Regions from separate parts of the Homo sapiens genome. Here regions 2 and 3 are each linked to region 1. The links are contacts of gene promoters, found by promoter capture Hi-C in blood cells and fetal thymus (Javierre and others, 2016). All regions are on one chromosome and are shown on one strand. The core of a region is centred on a gene start or on the middle of the fragment in contact, and the rest is flanking DNA. Distances in the headings are between cores, read along the strand shown.

Evidence for each region. Contacts are between HindIII fragments. The CHiCAGO score rates a contact against its expected background, and 5 or more counts as called.
Region 2: a contact is called between a fragment that was not itself captured here and the fragment with the promoter of BIRC6 in region 1, in 2 of 17 cell types (neutrophils and M2 macrophages). The highest score is 6.3, in neutrophils.
Region 3: a fragment that was not itself captured here is called in contact with the fragment with the promoter of BIRC6 in region 1 in 1 of 17 cell types (M2 macrophages); the score reaches 5.1 in M2 macrophages.

Annotation. Positions count from the first base shown.
Region 1 is chr2:32,355,326-32,358,855 of GRCh38, reverse strand. BIRC6 (baculoviral IAP repeat containing 6) reads right to left here and starts at 1,833. Exons shown (of 74, transcript NM_016252.4): 1 at 1,370-1,833. The coding sequence starts at 1,694. RefSeq lists enhancers at 623-1,135, 1,650-2,162 and silencers at 1,387-1,616, 1,777-2,146. The HindIII fragment of the contact is 6,861 bases long and covers 1-2,342 here.
Region 2 is chr2:32,241,169-32,244,698 of GRCh38, reverse strand. All of the region lies in intron 4 of NLRC4 (NLR family CARD domain containing 4), which reads left to right. Among named protein-coding and RNA genes, the nearest start is that of NLRC4, 22 kb to the left of the region's middle. The HindIII fragment of the contact is 8,504 bases long and covers 1-3,530 here.
Region 3 is chr2:32,445,235-32,448,764 of GRCh38, reverse strand. BIRC6 (baculoviral IAP repeat containing 6) reads right to left here. Exons shown (of 74, transcript NM_016252.4): 21 at 3,097-3,244. Among named protein-coding and RNA genes, the nearest start is that of MIR558, 85 kb to the left of the region's middle. RefSeq lists an enhancer at 923-1,500. The HindIII fragment of the contact is 4,466 bases long and covers 1-3,530 here.

The sequences.
Region 1 (3,530 bases), core at 584-3,083:
TCATTTACCTAAGCCAAGAAAAGAAAAAATTACAAACCTACCTCCCAAAACTTTCTCTTAGATATGTTCCAAGTTTATATCCTGAAACTATACATAATCCAATTCTTTCACAACTCTCACATCAACAATAATTAACATGTCTAATTTCACGTTTGCATCCCTAAATTGCCATTTACTCTTACAAATGCCTTATTACTCACATAGTAAACTTTTCCTTGTTCGTCTACGTTAAAATACAAGTGAATTGGTTGACCACATAACTACTTCCACTTGGCTAAACGCAGACAGTTGTATACATTACATCTCTATGCAGGAGTCCGATTCACTCATACACTAACTTTTCAATCTAAACCTACAACATCCAAATTAAGCCACCCATCATTTAACCACAAATGAAATGTCATCTCCGCCAAATCTAACTCAGCCAGGGCCATTCCAAAACCACTCCAGTCCGTCCACTGAGCATACACCTCACGCATCTGAAAGTCCCGTCCCTGGACCAAGGTTTACGCCACCCAGAAGTGCTCTCCTCCAATGGTGAGACTCAGACACACCTTCAAATCCTAATTTTCGGCTCGCTGTGGGAAAACAAGTAGAGACAGCCTGAAGTTACAAACCCAAAGGAATCTATTTCATACACCACAGGTCCTGACTTTCTCGTCACTGGGGCGTAGAAGTTGGAAGCCCCGAGCAAGGGGACCAGGTCTAGTCGTCTTCGGCGTCCGCAGAGTCCTACAGTCGTCGACCAAGCAGTTCAGGCAGCTGGCCCGCCTACTTCCCTCCCCACCCCCACCACGACCCACCCCACCCCCACCCCACCCCCACCCCCACGCTGGGCGCACAGCCCGCGGTCTGTCCCCCGCACTGCGGGACCTGAGAACAGCAGACTGCCGGCTCCTCTCCCACAAGGGAGGGCTTGGTTGCCGGCTCAGACGCTCCCCGCCCCTCGCCTCCGGCCACCAGCCTCTCCGCCCGGGGTCAACCCTTCCAGCCTTTCGCTCTCATCTAACCGGACGCAGGACCGACAGCCTCTCCAGGGCCTACCCGGGCCTCGCTTCCTCCGGTGCCAAGCTCCAAGGTCTCCTCACCTCTCGCGGAGGACCAAGCCAGACCGGACGCTCCAGGCCCGAAAGGCAACTCCCCTCCCACCACTCCCTGACTCGCCGGTCTTTCCTCCCAACTGCAGCCGCTGAAAAAGCCAAGTCCTAAGGTCCCCCTCCATCAGCTTCCGGGCCTCCCTTCACGGCTGGGCCCGAACCCCCAGCCCTGCCCTCTCGCCATCTCGCTTCCCCGAGTCGCGAGGCCGAGCCCCGGGGCTGGACGGCTTCTTTCCCCGGCTTCGCGCCCGCCCGGCGTGCGGAAGACTCACCACTGAGCGCGGAGGCCTGCAGTGTGGCCCCCGAGGTGCCGTCGATGACTTTGATGGTCCCGCGGCTAGTGACGGCCAGGATGGCGTTGAGCGCAGGGTGGTAGGACAGGCTGTGCAGCCCGTCGGCGTCGCAGTGCATGCAGCCGTCCCGCAGCACCAGCCACTCTGAGACCCCGGCCGCCCCCGCCCCCGCCGCCGAGGAGCAGCCGGGGCCCGAGGCCGCCGCAGCCGCAGCCGCCATCTTCCGGCCTGCGCTCAGCACAATCACACTGGGAAGCGGCTCAGTGACAGTCCCGGGAGGTGCAGCACCACCACCAGTCACCATCCGGGGCCAGGGGGCAAGCCGAGCGCGTTAGCCGGAAGTGAAGTCAGGCGCCCGCACGCACGCGGAACGTCGATCGCCCGGCCGGAGGGGCCAAACTCGGAGGGAGGCTGACGGGAGAGGGGGAGAAGCAGGGAGGGAGGCGGGGCCCGGGGCGCGGGCTGGAGGCCGGCGGGTGGAGCATGCGCGGGAGGGCTCGCGCGTGCCACGCGCCGCGGGTCTGGCCAGTTCCGCGTCCGCAGCGTCCCAGTTTCTTCCTGTGAGCCTGGGGAGTGGCGGCTGCCGAGTCCGCCCCGCTCCTCGCGGGGGCAGGGGGAGGGGTTGGCCTCCGTGCATTTCCGCTAGGTGGGGACCCCCGCCCTTGCGACCTGTCCGGTACGCCCGGAGGCCTTTTGCAGCGGTTCCAGCTGCGCCTTGACCGTTCCCGGTACGCACGGTGCAGCTGTTCGGCCGTGGCCGGAAGCGGACCTCTGGGTCTCGGTCACGGCTCTGGTGTGAGAATAAACAATCAGAAGCCTCTCGTTTGGATTGGAAGGAACCGAGCGACCTTCCCAAACCTGTACCTTTTACCACGCCTGCCCTCCCCATTCCCAAGGCTTTCTGTTGAACAGAAGTACCAGATACGAGGTGCTGGAAGCGCATAGTTAAGCTTAGTTTCTCTATCCACATTCCAAACAACCCGAGTTACCGGAATTAATAGGAGTGTGGGTCTGTGTGAGTGTGTGGTGGGGTGTGTTGGAGGTCTAGAAAGGACTAATCAATTTACTAATCATCCCCCCTTGGAGAATTTTTTTAAAACTTTTTATTTTGAAATAGATTACAGTTGAAAATATACTACAGACCTCTGTGGTCTTTCTCTCCAAAAGCCATAACCCCTATCTAACTATGAGAAAACCATTTGACAAACCCAAACTGTAGGACATTATTTTTATAAAATACCTAAACACTACTCAAAGATAGTACAGAGAGATCCAATTTACTCTTTACCCAGTTTCCCCCAATGGTTGCATATTACATAATTCTAGTACAATCTCAAAAGGAGGGATTTGATAGTTGTATGATGTGTGTATAGTTCAATGTCATTTTATCACATGTAGACCTACGCACCATAGTCAAGATGCAGAGTTGTATGTTCTATATGTTTTGTGATCATTAGGTTATTTTGGAAAGAACTAGTTTTCCTTAAAAACCTAATCAAAGATCTGTTGTGAGGATTAAGAATCATTTGTAAAATGTGTAGAAGAGCATCTGACAAGTATATACTACGTGCTCAATAAAAATTATAAAAGTTAATTGCCCTCTCACATTCATGCGAACTTCCTTCAGGAAATCTTCATGGATTACCTGAACTACATCTTAAACTATTAGCCATCAGGCTACATCTGAAACACTTAGAGATTTGACTGTATTCCTCTCTTCTTGGGGGTCCCTAAAATACACTGAAGTTCCTGGGCCTGCCAGAGAGTGACATTCCTTACTCATCTGTGGTTCTTTTTTTTTTTTTTTTTTGGCTTTTTTGTTTGTTTTTGTTTGTTTATTGAGACGGAGTCTCACTCCGTCGCCCAGGCTGGAGTGCAGTGGCGTGATCTCAGCTCACTACAACTTCTGCCTCTTGGATTCAAGCAATTCTCGGCCTCAGCCTCCTGAATAGCTGGGATTACAGGCACCTGCCACCACGCCTGGCTAATTTTTTTTTTTTTTTTTTTTTGTATTTTTAGTAGAGATGGGGTTTCACCATCTTGGCCAGGTTGGTATTGAACTCCTGATCTCGTGATCCACCTGCCTCGGCCTCCCAAAGTGCTGGGATTACAGGTGTGAGCCCCCGCGCCCGGCCACTCA
Region 2 (3,530 bases), core at 419-2,918, 110 kb after region 1:
CCAGTTTTAGAAGGGTTTTTTTTGTGGGGTTTGCAGAAGGGGGTGTTGTAGATTCCTTGACATTTTTATCATAGACAATCATGTTATCTTCGAAAAGAATGATTTTAAATTCTTCCCTTCCAATCTGTATTCCTTTTATTTATTTTTTTTTTTTGCCTTATTTCACTAACTAGGACTTGTAGTACAATGTTGAATAGTGACATGAATTAACATCTTGCCTTGTTCCTGACCTTAGGGAGAAAGCATTCAGACTTTCACCTTTAAGTATAATGTTAAATGTAGTTTTCTTGTAGGTGTCTTTTATCAAGTTGCTGAGAATTTTTTTTTTTTGGTCATGAATAGGTGTTGGATTGTGCTAAAGATGTTTTCTGTATCCATTTATATGATCATGTCATTTTACATGGATGGATGTTGGATTGTTTTTATTAAATTATTTTTAGATTATTTTTGAGGCAGGGTCTTGTTCTGTCACCCAGGCTGGAGTGCAGTGGCGTGATCATAGCTCACTGTAGCCTTGACTTCCTGGGCTCAACAGATCCACCCACCTCAGCCTCCTGACTAGCTGGGACCATAAGTGTGAACTATCACATCTGGTTAATTTTTAAATTTTTTGTAGAGACGAGTTCTCGCTATGTTGCCCAGGCTGGTCTTGGACTCCTGTGCTCAAGAGATTTTCCCGCCTGGGCCTCCCGAAGTGCTGGGATTACAGGCGTGAGCCACCTAGCCTGGATGTTGGATTATGTCACATGTGTTTTCTGCATCAATTTATGGGATCACGTAGTTTTACTTTTAGACTGCCAATATAATGAATTATATGGATTGATTTCCACATATTGAGCATCCTGCATTCCCTATATGAAGCCCATTTGGAGGTGGTGTAATATTCTTTTTTTTTTTTTTTTTGAGATGGAATCTTGCTGTGTCACCAGGCTGAGTGCAATGATGCGATCTCGGCTCACTGCAACCGCCGCCTCCTGGGTTCAAGCAATTCTCCTGCCTCAGCCTCCCAAGTAGCTGGGACTACAGGCGCGCCACCACGCCCAGCTAATTTTTGTATTTTTAGTAGAGACAGGGTTTCACCATGTTGGCCAGGCTGGTCTCAAACTCCTGACCTTGTGATCCACCTGCCTCGGCCTCCCAAAGTGCTGGGATTACAAGTGTGAGCCACCACGCCTGCCGTAATATTCTTTTATGCATGACTGAATTCCATTTTCTATTTTGTTGAAGATTTTTGATTCTGTATTCATGAATGATATTGGTCTAAAGTTTAATTTTCTTTCTTTCTTTTCGAGATGGGGTCTCACTCTGTCACCAGGGCTGGAGTGCAGTGGTGCGATCTCAGCTCACTGCAACCTCTGCCTCCTGGGTTCAAGCGATTCTCCTGCCTCAGCCTCTGGACTAGCTGGGATTACAGGCGCCTGCCACTACACCCAGCTGATTTTTTGTATTTTTAGTAGAGACGGAGTTTCACCATGTTGGCCAGGCTGGTGTCAAACTCCTGACCTCGTGATTTGCCTGCCTCGCCCTCCCAAAGTGCTGGGATTACAGGTGTGAGCCACCTCGCCCAGCCTCAATTTTCTTTCTTTTCTTTTCCGTCCTTCCCTCCCTCCTTTCTTTCTCTATTCTCTCTCTCTCTCTCTTTCTTTCATTAAAGACATTGTCTCATTCTGTCACCAAGGCTGGAGTGCAGTGGTGTCATCACACTTCATTGCAATCTTGAACTCCTGGGCTCAAGCGATTCTCTTGCCTCAGCCTCCTGAGTAGCCAGGACTACTCACACCTGCCACCACACCTGGGTAATTTAAAAAATATTTTGTAGGGATAGGGTCTGGATATATTGCCCAGGCTGGTCTCAAACTCCTGGCCTCAAGTGATCCTCCTACCTCTGCCCCCCAAAGCACGGGGATTATAGGAGTGAGCCACTGTGCCTGGCCTAAAAGTTTTTCTTCTACGTCTTTTTCTGGTTTTCATATCAAGTTAATGATGGCTTCATAAAATGAGTTGGGAATTATTCTTTGTACTTCTATTTTCTGGAAGTGACTGTGTAGAATTGGTGTTATTTCTTCTTTAAATGTGTGGTAGATATGAAGACAGTTGATAGAAGGAAAAAAATGAAAATGTGTGGCAGAATTTGCAAGTGAACATATCTGTGCCTACAGATGTCTTTTCCGGGAAATTTTAGATAACAAATTCAATTTCTTTAATAGCTATAAGGTTATTCCGGTTACCTACTCCGTATCACATGAGTGTTGGTAGTTTGTGGTTTTCAAAAAATTGGTCAATTTCATATATGTTGTCAAATTTATGTGCATAGATTTGTTTATATTATTCTCTAATTGTCCTTTTAATATCTGCAGTGTGTGTAGTGATATCCCCTTTTTTGTTTCTGATATTGGTAATTTTTGTCTTCTTTTTCTTTGTCAGTCTTGGTAGAAATTTTTAAATTTTATTGATCTTTTCAAAGATCCAACTTTTAGCTTCATTGATTTTTTTCTATTGTTTACCTGTTTATAATTTTGATTTCTGGGCTGGGCATGGTGGCTCACGCCTGTAATCCTAGCACTTTGGGAGGCTGAGGCCAAAGGATCACTTGTGCTCAGGAGTCCGAGACCAGCCTGGGCAACATAGTGAGACCTTGCCTCTGTTTTTAATTTGTATAATAAAGGCATAATAACTTTGATTTGCACCCTTATCTTTATTATTTTCTTTCTTCTTTCATTTATTTTGCTCTCTTTTCTGTAATTTCTTAAGTAGTATGCCTAGGTTGTTGATTTGAGGCCTTTCCTCATTTCTAATATAAGTATGCAATACTGTAAATGTCCCTGTAAGCACTGTGTTAGCTGCAGATTTTTTTTTCTTTTCACCCCTTTGTGAGGAGAGAGCTGCAGATTTTGAAGTTTTGTTTTTATTTTTATATTTTTCAAAATATTATCAAAGTTTCCATGAGACTTCTTCTTTAATGCATGATTATTTAAAAATGTGTTGTTTAATTTCCAAGTGTTTAGAAATTTCCCTGTTATCGGCCAGGCGCAGTGGCTCACGCCTGTAATCCCAGCACTTCGGGAGGCCGAGGCAGGCGGATCACGAGGTCAGGAGATTGAGACCATCCTGGCTAACATGGTGAAACCCCGTCTCTACTAAAAATACAAAAAAAATTAGCCGGGCGTGGTGGCAGGTGCCTGTAGTCCCAGCTACTTGGGAGGCTGAGGCAGGAGAATGGTGTGAACCCGGGAGGTGGAGCTGGCAGTGAGCTGAGATTGCGCCACTGCACTCTAGCCTGGGCGACAGAGCAAGACTCTGTCTCAAAAAAAAAAAAAAAAAAAAAAAAAGGAAATTTTTTTCCCTGTTATCTGGGAAATTGGTATCTAGTCTATTATTTGCAGAACATGCTTACAGTGAAGTATAATGCCCATCTCTTATAAAAAGTATATTTTTATGTCTATTTCATGAGCATTTTTGGCTCATGATGATCATTAAAATCTTTTGATTGGTAACAAAAATGACAGTAATAGTAAATGACATAGTAAATA
Region 3 (3,530 bases), core at 363-2,862, 90 kb before region 1:
TCCTTTCAGCCATCTAATTAACAAATTACCTTTACTTAGTTTTAAAAGCAGTCTGACTAACAGCGCAGAGGGCTCTCCCTCTCCCCTCTCCCCTCTCCCCTCTCCCCTCTCCACGGTCCCCTTCCACGGTCTCCCTCTGATGCCGAGCCGAAGCTGGACTGTACTGCTGCGATCTCGGCTCACTGCAACCTCCCTGCCTGATTCTCCTGCCTCAGCCTGCCGAGTGCCTGCCATTGCAGGCGCGCGTCGCCACGCCTGACTGGTTTTCGGTTTTTTTTGGTGGAGACGGGGTTTTGCTGTGTTGGCCGGGCTGGTCTCCAGCTCCTAACCGCGAGTGATCCGCCAGCCTCGGCCTCCCGAGGTGCCGGGATTGCAGACGGAGTCTCGTTCACTCAGTGCTCAATGGTGCCAAGGCTGGAGTGCAGTGGCGTGATCTCGGCTCGCTACAACCACCTCCCAGCCGCCTGCCTTGGCCTCCCAAAGAGCCGAGATTGCAGCCTCTGCCCGGCCGCCACCCCGTCTGGGAAGTGAGGAGCGTCTCTGCCTGGCCGCCCATCGTCTGGGATATGAGGAGCCCCTCTGCCTGGCTGCCCAGTCTGGAAAGTGAGGAGCGTTTTTGCCCGGCCGCCATCCCATCTAGGAAGCGAGGAGCGCCTATTCCCCGCCGCCATCCCATTTAGGAAGTGAGGAGCGTCTTTGCCCGGCCGCCCATCGTCTGAGAGGTGGGGAGCACCTCTGCCCCGCCGCCCTGTCTGGGATGTGAGGAGCGCCTCTGCCCGGCCGCCCCGTCTGAGAAGTGAGGAAACCCTCTGCCTGGCAACCGCCCCGTCTGAGAAGTGAGGAGCCCCTCCGTCCAGCAGCCACCCCGTCTGGGAAGTGAGGAGCGTCTCCGCCCGGCAGCGACCCCGTCCGGGAGGGAGGTGGGGGGATAGGGGGGCCCGCCCGGCGAGCGGCCCCGTCCGGGAGGTGAGGGGCTCCTATGCCCGGCCGCCCCTACTGGGAAGTGAAGAGCCCCTCTGCCCGGCCAGTCGCCCCGACCAGGAGGGAGGTGGGGGGGGTCAGCCCCCCGCCCGGCCAGCCGCCCAGTCCGGGAGGGGGGAGGGGGGGTCAGCCCCCTGCCCGGCCAGCCGCGCCGTCCGGGAGGGAGGTGGGGGGATCAGCCCCCCGCCTGGCCAGCCGCCCCGTCCGGGAGGTGAGGGGCGCCTCTGCCCGGCCGCCCCTACTGGGAAGTGAGGACCCCTCTGCCCGGCCAGCCGCCCCGTCCGGGAGGGAGGTGGGGGGATCAGCCCCCCGCCCGGCCAGCCGCCCAGTCCGGGAGGGAGGTGGGGGGTCAGCCCCCCGCCCGGCCAGCCGCCCCGTCCGGGAGGGAGGTGGGGGGATCAGCCCCCCGCCCGGCCAGCCGCCCCATCCGGGAGGTGAGGGGCGCTTCTGCCCGGCCGCCCCTACTGGGAAGTGAGGAGCCCCTCTGCCCGGCCACGACCCCGTCTGGGAGGTGTGCCCAGCGGCTCATTGGGGATGGGCCATGATGACAATGGCGGTTTTGTGGAATAGAAAGGCGGGAAGGGTGGGGAAAAAATTGAGAAATCGGATGGTTGCCGGGTCTGTGTGGATAGAGGTAGACATGGGAGACTTTTCATTTTGTTCTGTACTAAGAAAAATTCTCCTGCCTTGGGATCCTGTTGATCTGTGACCTTATCCCCAACCCTGTGCTCTCTGAAACATGTGCTGTGTCCACTCAGGGTTAAATGGATTAAGGGCGGTGCAAGATGTGCTTTGTTAAACAGATGCTTGAAGGCAGCATGCTCGTTAAGAGTCATCACCACTCCCTAATCTTAAGTACCCAGGGACACAAACACTGCGGAAGGCCGCAGGGTCCTCTGCCTAGGAAAACCAGAGACCTTTGTTCACTTGTTTATCTGCTGACCTTCCCTCCACTATTGTCCTATGACCCTGCCAAATCCCCTTCTGCGAGAAACACCCAAGAATGATCAATAAAAAAAAAAAAAAAAAAAAAAAAAAAAAAAAACAGCGCAGAGGGAGATGCTGACTAGATTTGACCCATCAAATTCAGTGAATCTCAACTATGTTCCCTGCAATCTATACTCTAAAAGACACTGTCCAGAGACTCAACAAATGTGATTCCAATAAGCTGGCAACTAAGGTACTAAGACTGCCACCTGCAGATTGAAGCGAGGGGTATCAGGCACCATTCTCTCCCGTGAATCATTACGACATAGCCTCAAGTACAAAGGCTTTGAGTAAAATGTCATCAAAATCAGAACATCTAACCTAGGAAATTATAAAATCACTGCTCTAAATAAAGGAACGCCTTACTTCAAACGTAGACAATCAGGCAAGAACTTAAATCTAACCTTTTGCTATTGCTTAATTCATCACGTTAGAAGTTTTGAAATACAAGTAGCAGGTAGAAGAATACTAGTTATGGGACAATAAGTGACTCACATAATTCCACCTATAAAGTGCACAGAGAAACAGACACATTACATTCTTCTTCCATTAGCAGGGCATACCACTTTTCATTATTAAATAAAATTAGCCCTCTGAATAACCATCATAAGGATTTATCAAACTGTTAAAGAGTAATTTCTGGCCGGGCACGGTGGCTCATGCCTGTAATCCCAGCACTTTGGGAGGCTGAGGCGGGCGGATCAACTGAGGTTGGGAGTTTGCGAACAGCCTGACCAACATGAAGAAACCCCGTCTCTACTAAACATACAAAATTAGCCAGGCCTGTGGTGCATGCCTGTAATCCCAGCTACTCGGGAGGCTGAGGCAGGAGAATCGCTTGAACCCGGGAGATGGAGGTTGTGGTGAGCTGAGATCACACCATTGCACTCCAGCCTGGGCAACAAGAACAAAACTCCATCTCGATAAAAAAAAAAAAGAGTAATTTCTGACAAAACAGAAGAAAGTAAAACCTCAGGCTATTATCGTATGGAAAAAGTAAGGTATAAACTAAACATTTTTGTAAGAAAAAGACTGTTATCAGCATATATATATTAAATAACAGTTCTCTGCAAAAGCGTGATCATACTCAGAGACGCCTATTATTAGTCATTAGATATACTAAAATACCTTGTCTGAAGTAAAGCCTCCATTGGTGTTAGCCTGTCCTGTAACTGTCTGGACACTGCAGTAAGCAAAGATGCACAAGCTGTACTGCATCCAGCCAGATCTTCATCTTTCACATAATTCAGTAAGACAAAATACCAATAGACAGAACCTGGAAACAATAAAAACAAAATAAATGTTTCTTTTTCCTCCTTTTCCTCTAACAATGAGAATTTAAGATTACCTATTTATCAGAATACTTCCTTTTGCTAGAAAGATACTCCCTTTTCTGGAAAGACAATCTTATAGGCAATTTACAAAGATAACTCCTTGGAGGGATCAAAGAGGACACTTAAAATATAAACAACACACTGAGGCACAGTCTTACACTAAGAATTTCAAATATTTCTGGAGAGTTTTATAAAGTCATTTAGGTGTATAATAATGTGTATTTATTT